Regions from separate parts of the Homo sapiens genome. Here regions 2, 3, 4, 5, 6 and 7 are each linked to region 1. The links are contacts of gene promoters, found by promoter capture Hi-C in blood cells and fetal thymus (Javierre and others, 2016). All regions are on one chromosome and are shown on one strand. The core of a region is centred on a gene start or on the middle of the fragment in contact, and the rest is flanking DNA. Distances in the headings are between cores, read along the strand shown.

Region 1 (2,754 bases), core at 134-2,633:
CTCTGGGTTGTGATTTGTAGCCCACAGTTTTCCACAGTAGAAGATATCCTTCCTCTGCACCTTTCCTTCTGCTATTTTCCCCCTGATGGCCTCCCCAGCTGTGTCTTCATTTTGGTATATGTAGGCTTCATCAGTGTGTCAGCACCCCAGACCAATGACAACCTTCACTGATGAAGACTCAGACTAAATGTAGAGACAGACTACTTGGGCTGTAGTGACATCTCTACCTACCACCTACTTGCTGTGTGGCCTTGAGTAAGTCATCGGCCCCCTTAGGGGTCAATTTAGGCTCTGAGTAGGTACCAAGTCTGATGATGGGAATGCTGTTTCCATCACTTAGAGGTATGCGGTGATTTGCAGGACTCACTTTCTTCATAGTGTCCTTTGATGCACAAAAACTTTTAATTGTGATGAAGTCCAATTTATCAATTTTATGTTGGATTGCTGTGACTTTGGATTATTGGCTATTCTTGTACATTAATTTTTTTCATATCAATTTTGGAATCAGCTTAACTTGTTCTAAAACTTTTTGTTGGTATTTTCAATGAAATAGATTGATTAATTAAGAGAGAATGGTGGTCTCCTTAAAAGAGAGCTTCCTATCAAAGAAGGGTATGCCTTTCCATTTACCCAAGTCCTTTCGGCGTTCTTCAGCAATGTTTTAAAGTTTGTTTCATATAGATATATTACAATTTTTAGACGAAGTTTATGTCTAGGTTTTAATGTTTTATTATTGTAAATTACTCTGGTGTTTAAATGTTGACAACTAACACAAGTGTTTAAAATACTATGTGAGCTACAGTATTTCACACAATGATCCAAATTCAGGCCAAGTTCAGATCTGCAACCTCAGATCTACTCCAGCTCTTTGCTTTATAGATAAGGAAGCTGAAGTCTAGAGATGTTGAGTGACTGACTCAACGCCACACAGCAAGTAGGTGGTAGGCAGAGATGTCACTAAAGCCCAAGGAATCTGTCTCTACATTTGTCCTGGACTCTAATCCAGGGTTCTGTCATTTTGCCAGCCACCATAAAATATTTGACAGTCTAGGAAAACAGCAAATGTTCTTACATCCATCGAGAACTTGTATTTGCCTAGAGATGGACTTTACCAATCAAGATAGGAATTAGATAAGAATTATTTTTTTTAAAAAAAGGAGCATTAAAACAATGGTCAAATGAGAGAAAAAGCAAAATTCAGACAGACAGATACATACACACACCCCAAACCCTCAAACCTCCAGGGCTTCCTGCCTGTGAACCGAAAGGGGGAGTGCGAATTTCTTGGCCCTGTCGGCAGGTGCTTTCTCAAAGGCCCCACAGTCCTCCACTTCCTGGGGAGGTAGCTGCAGAATAAAACCAGCAGAGACTCCTTTTCTCCTAACCGTCCCGGCCACCGCTGCCTCAGCCTCTGCCTCCCAGCCTCTTTCTGAGGGAAAGGACAAGATGAAGTGGAAGGCGCTTTTCACCGCGGCCATCCTGCAGGCACAGTTGCCGATTACAGGTAGGGCCGACGTGTCGACGGCAGGGAACTTCTAGAAACTCTTTGTGTATGTGTAGGGGAGTGGGTGTGGGTAGTGGAGGGTGGTGAGGGGCTGGGGTCTCCTTCAAATCCTGCCCTCCTCAAATCAATGGGCAAGTGAGCAGTGAGGGGTCCGGCCCGGTGCTGGCATCTGCTCCGTCACAGCCGAGTTGGGCATCAGTTCAGAGCCAGCTGCTAGAATACACAGCTCCTCCAGGTACAGATTTTTCGAGTGATAAGAGAGGAAGGAAGAAGGAAGCAAGAGAGCAACCGAGGCAGGCCCAGGGTAGAGAAACGGAGAGGGAGTGTTTCACAGAAGCTGGACAGGATCGGAAAATGTCAGCCAGGCCATGTTTCGTGCTGCGACGTTCTAGTCCCTTCAGCTTCTTTCACCCTCTGGCTGGCTCCGTCACTCAGCCCCTTTCTTTCTTCCTTTGCCAACAAAGAAGATTTTGTTGGTCAGTCAAGGTCATGGCCTGAAACACTCCAATGGGCCCGGGAGTAAGTGGGGTAACCAAGGAGGAGAGGGGCACAGGCAGGAAGCACCGGGTGGCAGCCTCCACAGCGCCTTCGCCACCTCATGGCCAAGCGTCCGTGTCTAGGCTCAGCCTTGTCATGGCTGTCCCCACACCCACGCCTGGGACTGCCGGGTGACGCACCATCCCAGGCTCCGTGACTCACCCCAGCCTGCCCCTTAGGCGGCCATCTAGCCCAGCCAGAGGGCCCGGCATTGACAGAACACGGGGCAGATGAGACGATGTGCCTGGTTAAGTCACCACCACGAGCAGCGCCCAGCCAACAAGAGTGCTTGCTCCTCACCTCATTCCCGATCGTGGGAGCCCAGCTTTGCTGCAAGCCTTTAGCTTCCACCATGTTTTCTAGCCCAGGTAATGAGGAAGAAAACCAGTGAAAAGAGGACAGGACAAACTGCTCAGGGGGATCAGCCTCGTGGCATCTTCCTGAGAAGTGGGGCAGGCTGAATTTCAATCTAAAGAAACAGGGAAGGTGAAGCAAGCAAATGTCCTCGGCCCACCTGATCGCTCCTGGTAACTCACCTGGGTGTGGGAATTTGTTTAGGGGCCCTGTTGGGAGGGCAGGAGAGGCCATGGGCACTTCTGCTCCCACCAGGGAGCCAGGCACAGCCCGGGCCAGCGCCTCGGGGGATTCTGAGGCCCGTGCAGCTGCAGGGGTTTCTGTCAGGTCACAGCTGTTTTCTCAGAAAAGCCTTGTGG
Region 2 (2,754 bases), core at 78-2,577, 470 kb after region 1:
GGGAATAAAGAAAAGCGTAGCATGCACTTGAGTAGGTGCAGAGGCATCATGAGTGGACCTGTCCATTATAGCTGAACTACAAGCAGGTGACCAAGGGAATGAGGTGTAGGGACCACAAGCACTTGCCCAGGCCCTCAGGGTGGACAGCCTACAGGCTTCTCCACCTCAGGGAGACCCTGACCCTGGGAGACTGCTTATACCTCAGCTTCAGGCATTGCTCCTCTTCAGAAGCCTTCGCTCCTGATTGCAGTCACTCGGCCTCAAGTGTGGGCTCGGGGGAGTCCCTCTCTTGTTATTTTCTCTGGCGAGGCACCCTCTTTGAAGCTTGCAGCTGATTCCTGTAGTGTTGGGCTGCAGCAGCCCCTTTTCTCTTTACCAGCAGTAACTGGACAGGGAATGATTTGCTCAGAGCAATACAATGACAAGAAAAGAGCCCCTGAATGAAAGTTTTTCCCAACCTGAGAGTCCTCCTAGATGCCACTTTTTTTTAAAGTCAACTAGTGGCCAGTTTTGAAGACATTATCCCTTTAGCATCTCTCCTATGAGTCTTCCTCCTCCCCATTCTCCTTTCTGTTGCAGCATTGTTCTGGGGCATAGAGACCTGGCCTCATCTGCTTATATATTCCTGGTTTGGAACAAACCTTGTTTTCTGCTCATTGGTAGCCCTTCAAGCCAACTTTATGCAAAACCAGGGAAGTGGCCTCTGCATGGGCAAGTGTCTAAATTAAGCATTTCAACCTACATAAAAACATGTCACCCTAACCCCACTCCACCCTTCTAGGCTGGCTTAAATTTAAGAATATTTGCACTTAAATCCGACTAAGAATATTTGCACCCCAGAAATTTCAAGAGATTATAAGTTTGGACTTACTGCTGATCGATACATTTCAAAACTTCCAATAAAAGAAATAGTACTTACAGAGAGTTGTACAAAGTATAGAATATTCTTTACTTTTTCCTTGTCTCAAGCCAAGCCATCGGATCTGCATCTTCGGTTGGAATCACCTTGAGTCCCTCTGGAATTCTTTTACATAACTACTTTAGCATTATTCCACTGGTCATCATTGTAGGAAATTGTTAGAAGCAATATTAGGTCTCTCATTTTTGTATTTATCATTAGAGTATTGTTGAGGACACTGCTCACTACATTGTAAATTACTTGTTGATGAAAATCCACCAGATAATTTTCTCTCAGGTCTGCTTACTAGGAAAGTTTTTGCTGCTCAGTTTTTTGGGTTTTTTTTCCACGATCTTGGCTCACTGAAACCTCCACCTCCTGGGTTCAAGAAATTCTCCTGCCTCAGCCTCCCAAGTAGCTGGGATTACAGGCATCTGCCACCAAGCCCGGCTAATTTTTGTATTTTCAGTAGAGACGGGGTTTCGCCATGTTGGCCAGGCTGGTCTCGAACTCCTGACCTCAGGTGATCCACCTGCCTTGGCCTCCCAAAGTGCTGGGATTACAGGCGTGAGCCACTGCACCCGGTTTCTTCTTTTTTTTTTTCTATTCCCATTAGGTCATAAGTTTTTGCTACATATAAGCAAGTCTGCTATAGACACATTGTGTTAAGGACACCATGAATTATATACAACTTGTGCTTTCCTCATTGCAATGATTGCTAGGAAGTTCAGAGTCAAACTTATATATGTCAAGGAACTGTTCAGGATTTTTCTAAATGGAGTTGGTGAACTAACTTTGTCCATGATTTCATCTCGCTCTCTCTCCTTTTTTGCCCTCATTTTATCTTCACAGTGATTTTGACTTTATTTAGTTCTCATCTTTTATGTATTTGTGGAATCCACCTTAAGTCCTCTTGAAAACAAGATGGGATTGAGTAGCAGTGAATACGAATAATAAAAACAGCTGTGGGGAGTGAGGTATAAGCGCCTGGAGTTGGGGTTGGGGAGGGAGAGTTTTGGCTGATTCAGCTCCTTGGGAGTCACAGGCCTGGATGAGGGGCATGACATGGAGGACATGCCCTGAGTGAGGGTGTGTGGTGAGAAAGCAGCTGAGGACGGGTTCTGTGGACAGCTTTATCACAGATGGAGGAGATGACAGTGAAAGGCCTGCAGCATGGCTGGAGGAAAGGAAAGCCCGAAAGAGGTCGGTCTGGGAAGCAGGAGAATATAGGTTCTTCCCTTTTGAAGTATTTTAAACAAGCCCATCATGTTTCTATTCTGCCCTTTTCCTCATAAAATCAACAAGAGGAATTGCACAGTTGAAAGACTTAATTGAGCATAGTTTATTTGGCTTGGCAGGCTTCTATGATTTTTTTTTTCTCTCCTGAACTAAAAAAAAAAAAAAAAGGCTACCCACGGAGAGAGAAGCTTTTCTGTTTCCACCTAAAGTTCACTTCCCACATTCCCAGCAGCCTTGGCAGACCCCTGTCAGTCTGGTCTATGGCGAGAGTAAGCGAGCCTTCCTGCACTTCCAGTCTGAGAGCACGCCCTGGTCTACCAGCGGATCCCGCGGGGAGTCAGGGCCCCAGCCTCTCCAAGCTCCTGTGGCCGAAGGTGACGTCAACACCCACTGCGCGCCTTCAGAGCGGCAGCGAGGCGGAAGTGGATTTCTGTAGAGAGGCACCTGGACTCATAATTTAGTGTACTTTCACTGCCTCCCCCACTTGGCAATCAAAACCGGAGATGCTTTTGAGCTTTCTTTTGTGCTGCCCGGAGAGGAGATGGGCTTATTGTGCCAACGGGCAATTATTTCATATCGCTCTACAGAGCACAAGCTGCAGCTGTCTTGGAGCAGGA
Region 3 (2,754 bases), core at 65-2,564, 460 kb after region 1:
CGAAGCCTAAATATTGCCACCTGGCCCTTTACAGAACAGGTTTGTAGTCCACTAATTTTACAGAATGGAACACTGAGGTCGAGGGGAAGTGAGGATTTTCCCAAAATGGCACAAATGAATTAGTGGCAGAAGGAGCTCATATGGGCTGGTGGAGAGTGCACAGGATCTGGAGTTATAAGAGCTGAGATCTAGTCCCAGCTCTGCCAGTACCTATGAGCAAGTGTCCTCTCTGGGCCTCAATGTCCCCATCTTTCTTTCTTTCTTTCTTTCTTTTTCTTTTTTTCTTTTCTTTCTTTTTTTGAGACAGAGTTTTGCTCTTGTTGCCCAAGCTGGAGTGCTATGGCACGATCTCAGCTCACTGCAACCTCCGCCTCCCAGATTCAAGCAATTCTCCTGCTTCAGCCTCCTGAGTAACTGGGATTATAGGTGGGTGCCACCACGGCCGGCTAATTTTTTGTATTTTTAGTAGAGATGGGGTTTCACCATGTTGACCAGGCTGGTCTCAAACTCATCTCGAACCCCATCTTTCTAACGGCCATGTTCCGCTATCTTTAAAATCCCATGACTGTAAACTAGAACACACATGAGGCCATGCCTTGGAAAGCTACTGCAGGCCCGCAATGCTTCCCAGCATATGTACTGCTCCTTTGTGGTGGTGACAGACCACTGAGGCCATATTGGGGTGAATTGGTTTTACAGCATTCCATCTCACTACTCAACTATGGAGTTTTCTGCCTGTGAACAAACAAGGCAGTATATGTGTGTGGGGGGTGGGTGGGGAGGGGTGGGTGGCTGTCACCAAGCCCCACCTGCCTCATGCCTTCTCTTTGGTCTCTCCTCTATATAGTGCCACCCTCCAAACCAGAATGCGGCATCGAGGGAGAGACCATAATTGGGAACAACATCCAGCTGACCTGCCAATCAAAGGAGGGCTCACCAACCCCTCAGTACAGCTGGAAGAGGTACAACATCCTGAATCAGGAGCAGCCCCTGGCCCAGCCAGGTAAGGGGGCAGTAGGGAAGGCGGGCTCCCCACGTCAAAGTGCAACACATGCAGCTGATTGGCTAGGGGCTGCAACTTGGGTTGACCGATCAGATCCCCCTGAAGGCCGCTTGCTTCCCTACCCATCCCTATCCCCCTATCCCCACCTCTCTAAGCACTGGTTTCTTGTTTTTAGACAGAGTCTCGCCAGGTGGCCCAGGCTGGAGTGCAGTTGGCACGATCTCAGCTCACTGCAACCTCCTCCTCCCAGGTTCAAGCGATTCTTCTGCCTCAGCCTCCCAAGTAGCTAGGATTACAGGTGCCCACCACTATTTTTAGTAGAGACGGGGTTTCACCATGTTGGCCAGGCTGGTCTTGAACTCCTGACCTCAGGTGATCCACCCGCCTCAGCCTCTCAAAGTGCTGGGATTACAGGCGTGAGCCATCGCGCCCGGCCAGCACTGGTTTCTTATAATAATACCTACCTCATAGGTTCTGGCAAGAAACAAAAATGATTCATGTAAAGCGCGTAGCGGAAGCCGTGGTAAATGTTAACTTGTTTTCTTTGTTCCTCATTCCTCAGTTCTCTTGGATGAACGTGCCCTGATAAGCACTCTGTGCAAAAGCATGGGTAGGATTTTAATTTGATTGTGTCCTGAAGTATACATTTGAGACCCCAAGTCTAACTCGGGGGCTCCACGCAAAGGTGGGGAATTTAACTTTCCCATTCCTTATCCAGGCCGGTCCCTCTCAGCCGTCACGGACCCCCGCTGCCCCAGACACACCACCGTTTTATGGCTCCACACAACGACAGCACCATGTTGCTGTAAGGGTCCCACCTTCTTAGGGGAGGCGATGGTGGATTCAGCTATAGTTGCCAGGAGACCAGTTTTGTACTGGGCAGCTTGGTATTGGACCTTTCAGTCAGGAAACTGAAAAAAAAAAAAAAAAAAAAAGAAAGAGCTATATAAAAATCCTACCATCCTTTCCACACCCAGAGCCAATGGGTGTGGAAATACCCTGGTGGAGTCCCAGGGCCCCTAGTGCCACCCCTGCTCCTGAGGATCAAGAAAGACAAGGCTTGCTGGGTGCCGTGGCTCATGCCTGTAATCCCAGCACTTTGGGAGGCTGAGGCAGGAGGATCACTTGAGGCTAGGAGTTCAAGACCAGTCTGGGCAACATTGTGAGACCCCTGTCTCCAAACAAAATTTTTAAAAAATTAGCTGGGCATGGCAGGACTCACCCTTTAGTCCCAGCTACTCAGAAGGCTGAGGTGGGAGGATTGCTTAAGCTCTGGAGGTCGAGGCTGCAGTGAGCCATGATCACACCACTGCACTCCAGCCTTGGTGACAGAGCGAGACCCTGCCTCAAATAAAATAAAATAAAATAAAGTAAAATAAAATAAAATAAAGTAAAATAAAATAAAATAAATAAAATATTTTTTAAAAAGAAAGACAAGGCCTGAAAGGTGTCCATCCGATTTAGCTTCTGGGAGGTCTTTCAGTTCAGTGTAGGTGGAAAAGGAGGCCAGAGGTGGAAAGCAAAGCCAGCAGGGCACACAGCTCTTCTGAGAAGATGAGGTGCCCCGGGGGTGGGGATGAGGACCCGGGGGAAGAATATCTGGTGTCCTGGATAAGCCCAGCCGGACGGATGCACACATTGGGGGTGCACTCAATCCAGGAAGAGCTTTATCACTCGTTTGGGGGCAAATCGACTTCTTAAAAAAGTTAGTAGACACTTTGGGAGGCTGAGGCAGGCGGATCACGAGGTCA
Region 4 (2,754 bases), core at 144-2,643, 400 kb after region 1:
AAACCGCTGATAAACTTTTAGAAAATAATAGTTTTTGGATTATAAAAACAATGTCTACCTTAGGAAACCTGTACAAGTTAAAGGAAATCTAAAGAAGAAAATAAAAACTGCTTGTAAAAACACCTCCCAGAGAGAAACATTGTTCACATTTTCTCACATTTCCTAACTGTTGTCTATGCAAAAACATGCACACACATACACATACATCTGTTGCTCAATTAGCAGCACACTGTACATGTCTTCTCTTGTAATCTAATTCTTTCTTACTGTATTGTGAACATTTTCCAATGTTGGTAATTACATATGCATGTCAGTATTATTGTCAATGGCTCCTAGTGTCCGGTTCTGTGGTAGCTACAGATGTCATGAGATGGTGAAGTCGGCAAGACTCTGTGGCAGGAAAGGAGGCCCAGAGGCCTTCTTGAGGGACAAGAGAGTCCTGGCAAGAGGGCAAAGGATAAGCAGTCATGGCGGCATCTTGCCTGGAGACCTCCGAATGCAGGTGGATGGAGGGGCCTTTCTCTGGGCTGGGGCAGGGTAAGTGGCTAGGCAGCCTCATTGTGCTGGATGGACCTATGGGCGCCTTTGGTGAAAGTTGGGGGAGTTTCGTCTGTCTCAGGCACTAACCAGAGGGTTAGGACAAAGGGTCATGAAGAGCAGTCAGACTCACTTCTCAGCTATGAAGACATTGGGCCAGACCTCATCCACCTCATTCCAGGGCGCCTCTTGGCGATCCTGAACCAGGGCCCGCTGTAGGTCCAGGACACAGGGCGTATTATAGAGGCTGGTGTCATCCATCTTCTCCCTGACGCGGTTGTACAGGTCCTCCACCAGCAGCTGTTCAGCAGACTCCAGCATGCCTGGACACTCTGCGTCTGCTCTGACCCCCGGTGGCTTGAGTTCTAGAGGAGACAGGCAGCATTCTCATCAGAGAGTTAGGAACATCATGGCCTTCCTTGTTCCTGGGGAGAACATGCTCTTGGCCAGTTTGCTGCCAGGATTCTGGGCATGGACTGAATGCCAGCAGGATCTCCCAGGAAGGACTTTAATTGGGCCCAGGGTACCTGCTGCACTGGCCCAAACACTTGTAATCAGGGTCAGCAAGAAGACTGTATAGATGTGGGTAAAGGGGATCCAATTTCTTTTACTCCCTCCCATGCTTCTCTGAAGCTGGTCGATAATTTTTTAGACCAAGTTCCTTAAGTATTAGGTGTACTTTGATTCATACTTAATAACTCCCACAGTGCCCAGTACAAAGTGGATGCTCAGAAGTGTTTACCAGCCAGGCGTAGTGGCTCACGTCTGTAACCCCAGCACTTTGGGAGGCCAAGGTGGGCAGATGACCTGAGGTCAGCAGTTCAAGACCAATCTGACCAACATGGTGAAACACTGTCCCTACAAAAATACAAAATTAGCCAAGCGTGGTGGAGAGTGCCTGTAATCCCAGCTACTTGGGAGGCTGAGGCAGGAGAATCACTTGAACCTGGGAAATGGAGGTTGCAGTGAGCTGAGAGCATGCCATTGCATTCCAGCCTGGGCAAAAAGAACGAAACTCTGTCTCAAAAAAAAAAAAAAAAACCAAAAAAAAAAAAGTAGAAGTATTTACCAAATGAGTGAATGGCATTCATTCATAGTATAATTCACTCTGTTAGTTTGACTCTTTTACATATGGATTGCAAATAACCCTGGGAAAAGTAAAACTTTCAGCAGTAATTTATGCAATATTGCCTTCTAATATACACCTAATTTACTGATTTATTTCTTGTATTGTCTTCTTCCCCCTACTAGAATGTAAGGACCTATGATTCTCAGCCTCCCAGCCCACAGACAGGTGGCAAAGGTTGGCCATGAGCTCTCATTCTAATCTCAAAACGTGACTCAGGGCCTTTCTGACAACAGGTCAGAAAAGCTCAAACTCCAGATGAACTCAAACCCCAATTCACTCACATCTGGGGTGAATCTTTATCTTCTAATAATATATTTGCTCACAGTTTATCAAATTTGGGGAAATGTAAGATGCTTTCTTTCTTTAAGTTAGACAAAAATAACAAAGAACAAAATCGTTCCTCTCACATGGTAGCCAAAATACTGAATAGAGAGAGAGAGAGAAAAGAAGCTGGAAAGATGTTTCCTCTGTGTTCCCCATAGCCTCTTGATGGCACCATCTCTTCCCTGATGGGCAGTCTCTGGGTGGGGGCTGCAGAGAGTCCAGCCACATTTGGAAGGTAGACTTGGTCCAGCCCCTCGTGGAATCTGCTCCTCCCAGGGGTCTGTAAGCAGGGCTTGTTGCTCATGGACTGCAAATCCAGGGAGCCTTGGGTTCTGCCTAGGGCTCAGGATTTCATTTCCCTTCTCTCTTCCCTCCTCTAACCCCCCTGAGGGACCCCCACATCCCTGCATCAGGGCTCAGCTCTAAACGTTCTCTGATCTCCGTTTCAAACGCAGAAAGAAGAAAACTCCTGCAATCCCAGAGCTCTATTTTGTTTAAAAATAGATGAAGTGTTCCTATTTTCTCCACTACCCAGTTTTCTCCCCTGGCTCTCCTGGGGTCTTTCATAGCAAATTCAGTCCGCTCCCCTTCCCGTGTCTACTTAGATGTCTTTCCCTTACTACATATAAAAAGTGGGACTCCTGACACCTCATTAAAATACACGGTGTTGTCTTCCTCGGCTATTTATCTAGCAGGTTGTTGTTTCCATTTCTTTTCTTTTCAATTTAAAAACAAATGTCCCAGCCCTTCACCCCTGATGGCAA
Region 5 (2,754 bases), core at 70-2,569, 370 kb after region 1:
ACATATGCTACAACACATGGATGAACTTTGAGGACGTTTTGCTCAGTGAAATAAGCCAGTCACAAGAAAACAAATATTATATAATTCCACTTATATGAGGCACATAGAGTAGTAAAAATCAAAGAGACAGAAAGCAGAATGGTGGTTTCCAGGGGCAGGAAAGAAGGGATAAGAAAGAGTCACTGTTTAAGGGGTATAGAGCTTGACTTTTACAAGATGAAAAAGTTCCAGGGATGGGTAGTGGTGATGATTGTACAACTTTATGAATATATTTAACATCACTTAACTGTACACTTAAAATGGTCACGATTATAGATTCTATGCTGTGTTTTCTCTTTCTTTCTTTCTTTCTTTTTCTTTTTCTTTTTTTTTTTTTTTTTTTTTTGAGACAGAGTTTCATTCTATTGCCTAGGCTGGAGTGCAGTTGCGTGATCTTGGCTCATTACTCCAGCCTCCACCTCCTGGGCTCAAGCGATTCTTCCACCTCAGTCTCCCAAATAGCTGGGAGTTCAGGAGCGTGCCACCACACCTGGCTAAATTTGTTTACTTTTTTGTAGAGATGAGGTCTCACTATATCTCCCAGGCTGGTCTTGAACTCCTCGGCTCAAGTGATCCTCTCACCTAAGCCTCCCAAAGTGCTGGGATTATAGACATTAGACAATGCTCCCAGACTATGTCATGTATATTTTACCACAACAAAAAAATTGAAGGAGGAAAAAAGGCTATTTGACTATTTTGATAATTGCACTATGGCCATAAAACATGTTAGAATAAGAGTGGGGGACATAAAGGAAGTCTTTATTACTTTTTTTGCAACTTTTCTGTAGGTCTAAAAGTAGACCAAAATAAAAAATGGCCATTTGAAAGTGCTGCTGATAATAAAAATATTATTTATATATAATGAAATATGGCAACATGGTGAAAACCTGTCTCTACAAAAAATACAAAAATCAGCTAGGCATGGTGGCGTGTGCCTATAGACCCAGCTACCAGGTGAGGGGAAGAGGGGGCTGAGGCAGGAGAATCGCTTGAGCCTGGAAGGTTGAAGCTGCAGTAAGCCGCGACTGTGCCACTGCACTTCAGCCCAGATGACAGAGTGAGACCCTTTCTCAAAAACAAGAACAAAACAAAAAAAGAAATGAACAACATTATAAACCCATTAGACCTAATGGACACTACACCCTACAAAAGCACAATGCACATTCTTCTCAAGGGCACATCGGACATCTCCTAGATGGGCAATGTAGTGAGACCTCATCTCTATAAAAAATTAAAAAATTAGCCAGGTGTGGTGGTGTGTGCCTGTAGCTTTAGCTACTTGGGAGGCTGAGGTGGGAGGATCACTTAAGCCTAAGAGTTTGAGGCTGCAGTGAGCCATGATCGTGCCAATGCAGTCCAGCCTGAGTGACAGAGACAGACCTTCTCTCTAAAAAAAACAACCACATAAAAGTAAAAGAAACGGAAAAAAAGTACGAAATAAATACAAAGCAAGAAGGGAAGAAATAAAGATTAGAGTAGATATAAATGAAATGGAATGGAAAAGCAATCGAGAATATCAGTAAAAAGTTGGTTCTTGGAAATGTTCAACAAAGGTGACAAATCTTTAATTGAACTTACCAAGAAAAAAAAAGAGAGAAGACAGAAATTACTAAAATCAGGAATGAAAAAAAAAAGAGGCCGGGCGTGGTAGCTGTAATCCCAGCACTTTGGGAGGCCTAGGCGGGCGGATCACTTGAGGTCAGGAGTTAGAGACTGGCCTGGCCAATACGGTGAAGCCCGTCTCTACTAAAAATACAAAAAATTAGCTGGGCATGGTGGCGTACACCTGTAATCCCAGCTACTCGGGAGGCTGAGGCAGGAGAATCTCTTGAACCCGGGAGACAGAAGTTGCAGTGAGCTGAGATTGTGCCATTGCACTCTAGTCTAGGTGAAAGAGTGAGACTCTGTCTCAAAAAAAAAAAAAAAAAAAAAAAAAAGAAAGAAAACAAAAACATCATTACCAACCTTGCAAAAATTAAAAGGATCATAAAAGTATATTACAAATAACTGCATGCCAACAAATTTGATATCATGGCCGGGTGCGGTGGCTCAGGGCTGTAATCCCAGCACTTTGGGAGGCTGAGGCGGGCGGATCACAAGGTCAGGAGATTGAGAGAATCCTGACTAACAAGGTGAAACCCGTCTCTACTAAAAATACAAAAATTAGCCGGGCGTGGTGGCGGGCACCTGTAGTCCCAGCTACTCGGGAGGCTGAGGCAGGGGAATGGCGTGAAGCCAGGAGGCGGAGCTTGCAGTGAGCCAAGATTGCACCACTGCACTCCAGCCTGGTCAACAGAGAGAGACTCCGTCTCCAAAAAAAAAGGAGTTCGATGGTGAAACCCCGTCTCTACTAAAACTACAAAAATTAGCCGGGTATGGTGGCATGCGCCTGTAATCCCAGCTACTCAGGAGCCTGAGGCAGGAGAATCGTTAGAACCCGGGAGGCAGAGGTTGCAGTGAGCCAAGATGGCGCCACTGCACTCCAGCCTGGGTGACAGAGCAAGACTCCATCTCAAAAAAAAAAAATTGATATCATATATGAAACGGACAAATTCCTAGAAAGACACAAACTACTGACTCAAGAAGAAATAGAAATCCTGAATAAATCTATAAAAACTAAAGATGGAAGTAGTAATTTAAAAACTCCCCCCCACACAAAAATCCCAGGCCACATGGTTTCACTGTTGAACCAAAGTTTAGAGAAGAATTAATACC
Region 6 (2,754 bases), core at 100-2,599, 350 kb after region 1:
TGGGGGTTCACAGTATCTCAGATTTTATATTCTTTAAAGCAGTCACCACTCAGAAAGAAAAATCTGGAGCTTTTTATGGTGTCTTTAGAAAGGAGAGGGAAAAATAATGTTCCCTGGGATCTCTGTGATGTTAGCTCTGCCTCACATCACACTCTTCCCATTATCGCTGGATTTATTCTCATCCTCTTCTGGGAGGTGGGAAAGAGACTGTCATTGTTGTTGCCTTACAGGCTTCAGGTTTGCTCCAAAGGCATTGCCATGAAAGAAAGGCCGATTCCTTTGATGGCACACGAACTGGCACGTGTCCTCCCGCTCTCTTTCTCTCTCACTCTATAGGAGGTTAGGGTGTTGGTAGGAAAAAATTATGAAAAGGAGGGGAAGGTTCAAACTATATGTGAATAAAAACAATTTATCTCCATGAAATAAAGTTATGAAATAAAAATGATCATTCTTTCCAGGGACATTGTGAGATTGGGTGGGGAAGGAGGAGGTTTTTTGTTGTTGTTGTTGTTTTTTCTTAAGGAGCCCCAGGACCTCCCATTTATGTATTCAACAAATGTTTACTGAACACCTACTGTAATGGTTAATTTTAGGTGCCAAACTTGACAAGATTAAGGAACACCTAGAGAACTGGTACAGCATTGTTTCTGGGTGTGTCCATGAGGGTGCTTCCAGAGGAGACCGGCGTGTGAGTCAGTGGACTGAGGGAGGAAGTCTGCCCTCAATGTACATAGGCACTGTCCAATCAAGGGGGGCCTGAAGAGAGCAAAAAGGTAGAAGAAAGGCAAATTCTTTCCCCTCCCTTCTGGAGCTGGCACACCCTTCTTCTCCTACCCTTGGACATCAGAACTCCAGACTTACTGGCCTTTAGGTCAGGTCAGGACCTGCACCAGTGGCCTCTCCCTGGTTTTCTTGGGCTTTTGGCCTTGGATTGAGAGTTACACTATCGGCTTCTCTGGTTCAGAGGTCTTTAGACTTGGACTAGGTCATGCTACCAGCTTCCTGAGGTCTCTAACGTAGAGGTAGCCTGTCATGGTACTTCTCAGCCTCCATAATCACATGAGCCAATTCCCCTAATCAATCTCCTCTTATATCTTTCTATGTGTCTGTCCATAGCCTATTCATTCTGTCTCTCTGGAGAACTCTGACTAATATACCTGCTCTGTGCCAGGCATTGTACTAGATGCTTAAAATATAGCAGGGAATGAAATTGAAAAAGTCCCTGTACTGGTGAAGTTTACATTCCCTTGAGGAAAGACAAACCAATAAATGTGTGATATTCTAGGTGGTGATCACTGCTATGAAGGAAAGTAGAACTGGTTAAGCAATTAGCGAGTGACGGAAGGGGGTGGATTTTGCTAGGGAGTCCAAGGATGGCGTCACTGTAAAGTGATGTGTGAAGTGAATTGAGGGAGTGAGATCACTGAGGAGAGAGAGTTACTAGTGGAGGCAGCAAATGCAAAGGCATTGAGGTAGAAGTCTTCAACCTCACAGCATTATTCCTCCCCACTTTTTTTAACTCTTTGTTTCCAGTTTCCCCATCATCTTCCTCCTCTTTTTCTAATCTCTTTCCCACCTTTTCTTCCCTCTCCTTCCCTTATTTTTTCCATCTTAACATCAGTTTTTCTAAGCACTGTCTTATAGTAAGCCTGATCTTGTCCAGAAAATGCTAAATTTTAAGAAAGATGGGTGGGGGTGGAGGGAGGAAATGTGTCTCAGTGAGTGACACCCAGGCTACATATCGCCGTTGTATGACCATGGCGTGCTATGTGCTTCAAGAAAGTCCTTCACTGGCTCTGGGCCACCTGCAGAGAAAAGTCGGCGCTTCAAACCATGGGTGCCATGTCCTGTCAGTGACTCTTGCCAGCTCTGAAGAATGTGCACAGTGGACGTGGGATGGAGAGGAAGAGGCTATAGAAAGCACATTTCTCTATCTGTCAGCAGCCAAACTGGAAACTCACCAGGACCTGCCAGAAAGATTTCCTGCTTCATGAATTGAAATCAGAATGCTTAACTCTGCTCAGCTCCGTCTGTGATAGAGGAGATAGAAGCTGGTTAGCTTATATACAGTTTTGGAAAGTACATTACATTTTATAAAACAACGTGAAAAATATCTCCTAACAATGTCAGGATTTCTACACCTTCTTCTCTTTAGCCTCATGCCAAAAGATATGCAGTGATGAAGTCCCTGGCCCTTTAAAAAATAACTCCCAATCATTTGTGCAAAGATCAGGTCTGCCACAAATATTAAAGTTTAGGGTGTCTTCAAACACACTCTTAAAGAGGGAAATGCCTGGTGGAGGTAGTGTCTGCCTCACAATAGAGACTGAAGATGGATTAAGAAACACATTTCTCTCAAATGTGTTATCTCTTCTCTATGATTGAAACTGCCTTTGCAAAATTATGACTGAGACAGTGAAAGAGATCTAACGTAACTGACTCCATTTTGCTTTTAACCTCCAAGCTGTCCTTATTCATTCCTGGGCGTAGGAGGAACTTAGTTTATAGTTTAAAACAAAGACGATAACAGCCCTTTCCCCAAACAAGACGCCTTTGTAGGACTAACATTAGCCACAAGATTAGAAATTATGGTTTAGGAGTCATGCAGCTGGACACTACAAGATTCTGACCCAACCTAAACTGCTCCTAAGATCAGTGCTTGAGATATTTTGCAGATGCTGCACTGGATGGATCAGCTGATACCACCCAGATCAATAAACTGGCTCATCTGATCCTGTGGCCCCACCCAGGAGC
Region 7 (2,754 bases), core at 160-2,659, 330 kb after region 1:
TCCTGTCTCATATTCTGTCCTCTCAACTTAGACTGCTTTGGTCTCCCCAGACTCTTAGTTTTGTGTCCTCAACTCAATGAGATCACCAGTCTCTGCCTCAGTTTCCCTTCCCTGAGCCATAGCTTGGAAAATGTGTCAAGGCAGTAAACTAGGGTAATTGTAGGGCTCATTAATTTTATTTTCTGTCTCTGCAGGATCACTATCCTTTGTTACCTGATACCCAGTGTCCTGAAACTACTGTTTCATATATCTCATCCCTCTTTTTGTTACTGTTTTAGGCAGCAGGATAAAATCTGGTTCCTGTTATTCAATTATAGCCAGAAGCAGAAGTCAGAACTTTGTGTTTGATGTCACCTCAATTTGGATTAAATTACTAACTTTGTTCCTTAAAGCTTGTGTGATCTCATCAAGTTATATAAACTGCTTGAGTCTTAGTTTATTTTCTGTTAAATGGGATAAACAAACTCTTTTTCAATATGGTACCACAAGAGAAGAATGAGAAAACGTGTGAATCACAGTATGTGCTGATGAAAGAAAGGATGAGCAGCCAGGAAATATGGAAAGAAAAAAATCTCGATGAGAGATTGAGAAGGGAAGAGAGTAAGAGACATGGAGTAGAGATAGCCTGGGAGGGGCCCCTTGGGTAAAGGGGATGGGGAAGAGATGTGGGGGAGTAAATACCAGTGGAGGAGGAGATGGAGATGGCATAACAGAAGTGAGGTAAAGGGAAGGAATTCTGTAGCTGCTCAAGGTTGTGTGGTTGGGGTTCTGCATAGAGATGCCCAGCCTAGGGGTGAATGAGTCTGGAAATCTAACCTGAATGCAGCAATCCAGGCCGTCTTCCCAGAGAAAGGCACTTTTACCTTCTCTCAGAGGCTCCTTCTGCCACCAAGCTATGGCTTATGGGTACATCTGCCTGGAGGCATGTGCTTTCCTAATTTGCACAAGGTGCTGTGAAGGCTGAGAGGCCCTGTCAACAAACACTGGATATGCTGGATATAGAGACACTTATCACCTTAGAGGAAAACATCTCTTTTGGCTTGGAACTTTGGACAGTAAAGAGCTTAATGCCATTTATTCATTTGTTTATTCACTTGTTGGGGCATTCATTCATCCAACAATCATTACAGTCGGTACCACAGTGGGCCAGGCACTATGCTGGGGGCTAGGGATAAAGTGAACAGGGCACAGTTTCTGCTTTCTAGAACAGAGATGTCACAGGTTATGTGATGTGGTACCTGTGGCCTGACAGTGAGAGGAGAGAAGTCAAGGTGGGGACCAAGAGACCACCTGGACTGTAGAGCTGACCAGGTAACTATCACCAGTGGGACAGGATGACTTCTGGTTTGCACTCCCAGTGCATCCAACTCTCTCTACTGCCTATCAGCCTTAGGAAGAAGGATGTTGGCATTAGGTTCGGGGATAGCAGAGCCAGTCTGGTGAGCCTGAGAGAAGTGTTGGGAACTTTTGTTGGAATGTGGAATGCTCAGCAACTGGCATTCTCTCTGAGTACCAGTCAACATCTCTTACATTCTCCCTGAGGGGGTGTGTTCAGCTATCACAAAAAACTATCATCCACACAGGAAAGAAAGACTCTGTCCAGATTTTTAAACCTAACACCCACAGGTTGTTCCTGAGTCTCCTTTGTGGCCTCACTATCATAATTCCATTTTTGTCTTTAGTGTTCAAATCCAGGAATATGTTTAAAATGCTGTATCTGGACTTAGAAAAATAAAATCTGAAGGGACTTGCAGAGGGTGATTTTTTAATTTTAAATTTGCTGAATAGATAAAATAGTCATATGATACAACATGCAAAAGCTACAAAATGATATTTTGAAAGTAAGTTTCCCAGCTACCCAGTTACCTTCTTCAGAAGCAACTGTTACTACCTGTTTTGTATGTCTTTCCAGAGACACTTTATACAAAAGGAAGCAAATATGTACATACATAGGGGCATAGGCTTTTTTATTAATACACAAATGCTGACTCTCTATATAAATATAGATGTACGTATGGTTCTGCAGTTTGCTGTTGCACTTAAATATATAGGAAATCTCTCACCAATTTTAACTTGTTTATTGAGTAATATTAACCCTATGAACATGAAGTGGTTTATTTTTCTCTAACCATTGCTTTCATATGTATCCCATCAAATATCCCTTTCTGATCTGGTTGCACACATACTGGACTTTGCATGCTAACTTTCTGACTTGAATTCATCTTTCTTTCTCTAGTACAAGGTATCAGTCCTATGCTAGCAATGTCCCAAATGAATTACTTTCAGAAAGTGTAAGACTTAAGGAGAAATTTTTGTTTTAAATTAGGAAATACAAAACTCCTTCTTGGGTCAGATTCGTTTTAATTCTCCGAAGTTACTTGGGCTGCCAAATCACATACCTTCCCTTCTTTTTGATTGAAGCTTTGGAGCCTATATTAGTCCGTTTTCACGCTGCTGGTAAAGACATTCCCAAGACTGGGCAATTTACAGAAGAAGGAGATTTATTGGACTTACAGTTCCACGTGGCTAGGGAGGCCTCACAATCATGGTGGAAGGTAAAAGGCAGGGAGGGGCAAGTCGTGTCTTACATGGATGGTGGCGGCAAAAACAGAGAGCTTGTGCTGGCAAACTTCCATTTTCTTAAACCATCAGCTCTCGTGAGATTCATTCACTCTCATGAGAACAGTTCAGGAAAGACCCACCCGCATAACTAAATCACCTCTCACTGGGTTCCTCCCATGACACGTGGGAATT

Evidence for each region. The method cuts DNA at HindIII sites, captures the fragments that hold promoters and counts their contacts. A CHiCAGO score of 5 or more calls a contact.
Region 2: a contact is called between a fragment that was not itself captured here and the fragment with the promoter of CD247 in region 1, in 1 of 17 cell types (fetal thymus). The highest score is 6.3, in fetal thymus.
Region 3: a fragment that was not itself captured here is called in contact with the fragment with the promoter of CD247 in region 1 in 2 of 17 cell types (total B cells and fetal thymus); the score reaches 8.1 in total B cells.
Region 4: a contact is called between a fragment that was not itself captured here and the fragment with the promoter of CD247 in region 1, in 2 of 17 cell types (neutrophils and endothelial precursors). The highest score is 6.0, in neutrophils.
Region 5: a contact is called between a fragment that was not itself captured here and the fragment with the promoter of CD247 in region 1, in 1 of 17 cell types (naive B cells). The highest score is 6.0, in naive B cells.
Region 6: a contact is called between a fragment that was not itself captured here and the fragment with the promoter of CD247 in region 1, in 1 of 17 cell types (total B cells). The highest score is 5.3, in total B cells.
Region 7: a fragment that was not itself captured here is called in contact with the fragment with the promoter of CD247 in region 1 in 1 of 17 cell types (total B cells); the score reaches 5.9 in total B cells.

What each region holds. Positions count from the first base shown.
Region 1 is chr1:167,517,158-167,519,911 of GRCh38, reverse strand. It overlaps CD247 (CD247 molecule), which reads left to right and starts at 1,383. Exons shown (of 8, transcript NM_198053.3): 1 at 1,383-1,504. The coding sequence starts at 1,447. It also overlaps the pseudogene AKR1D1P1. RefSeq lists enhancers at 1,552-2,751, 2,023-2,754. The HindIII fragment of the contact is 3,961 bases long and covers 1-2,754 here.
Region 2 is chr1:167,044,011-167,046,764 of GRCh38, reverse strand. No RefSeq gene overlaps it. Among named protein-coding and RNA genes, the nearest start is that of GPA33-AS1, 7.3 kb to the left of the region's middle. RefSeq lists an enhancer at 2,591-2,740. The HindIII fragment of the contact is 2,001 bases long and covers 327-2,327 here.
Region 3 is chr1:167,061,831-167,064,584 of GRCh38, reverse strand. It overlaps GPA33 (glycoprotein A33), which reads left to right. Exons shown (of 7, transcript NM_005814.3): 4 at 848-1,003. GPA33-AS1 (GPA33 antisense RNA 1) reads right to left here. Exons shown (of 6, transcript XR_922249.3): 4 at 1,822-1,914; 5 at 1,468-1,597. Among named protein-coding and RNA genes, the nearest start is that of GPA33-AS1, 11 kb to the right of the region's middle. The HindIII fragment of the contact is 3,499 bases long and covers 1-2,754 here.
Region 4 is chr1:167,115,476-167,118,229 of GRCh38, reverse strand. STYXL2 (serine/threonine/tyrosine interacting like 2) reads right to left here. Exons shown (of 6, transcript NM_001080426.3): 4 at 671-902. Among named protein-coding and RNA genes, the nearest start is that of STYXL2, 23 kb to the right of the region's middle. The HindIII fragment of the contact is 3,511 bases long and covers 1-2,754 here.
Region 5 is chr1:167,142,538-167,145,291 of GRCh38, reverse strand. No RefSeq gene overlaps it. Among named protein-coding and RNA genes, the nearest start is that of STYXL2, 50 kb to the right of the region's middle. The HindIII fragment of the contact is 6,442 bases long and covers 1-2,754 here.
Region 6 is chr1:167,167,772-167,170,525 of GRCh38, reverse strand. It overlaps LOC105371601 (a long non-coding RNA gene), which reads right to left. Exons shown (of 3, transcript XR_922250.3): 2 at 1,962-2,030. Among named protein-coding and RNA genes, the nearest start is that of LINC01363, 27 kb to the left of the region's middle. The HindIII fragment of the contact is 6,292 bases long and covers 1-2,754 here.
Region 7 is chr1:167,190,856-167,193,609 of GRCh38, reverse strand. The region is part of intron 2 of LINC01363 (long intergenic non-protein coding RNA 1363); the gene reads left to right. Among named protein-coding and RNA genes, the nearest start is that of LINC01363, 3.6 kb to the left of the region's middle. The HindIII fragment of the contact is 2,029 bases long and covers 395-2,423 here.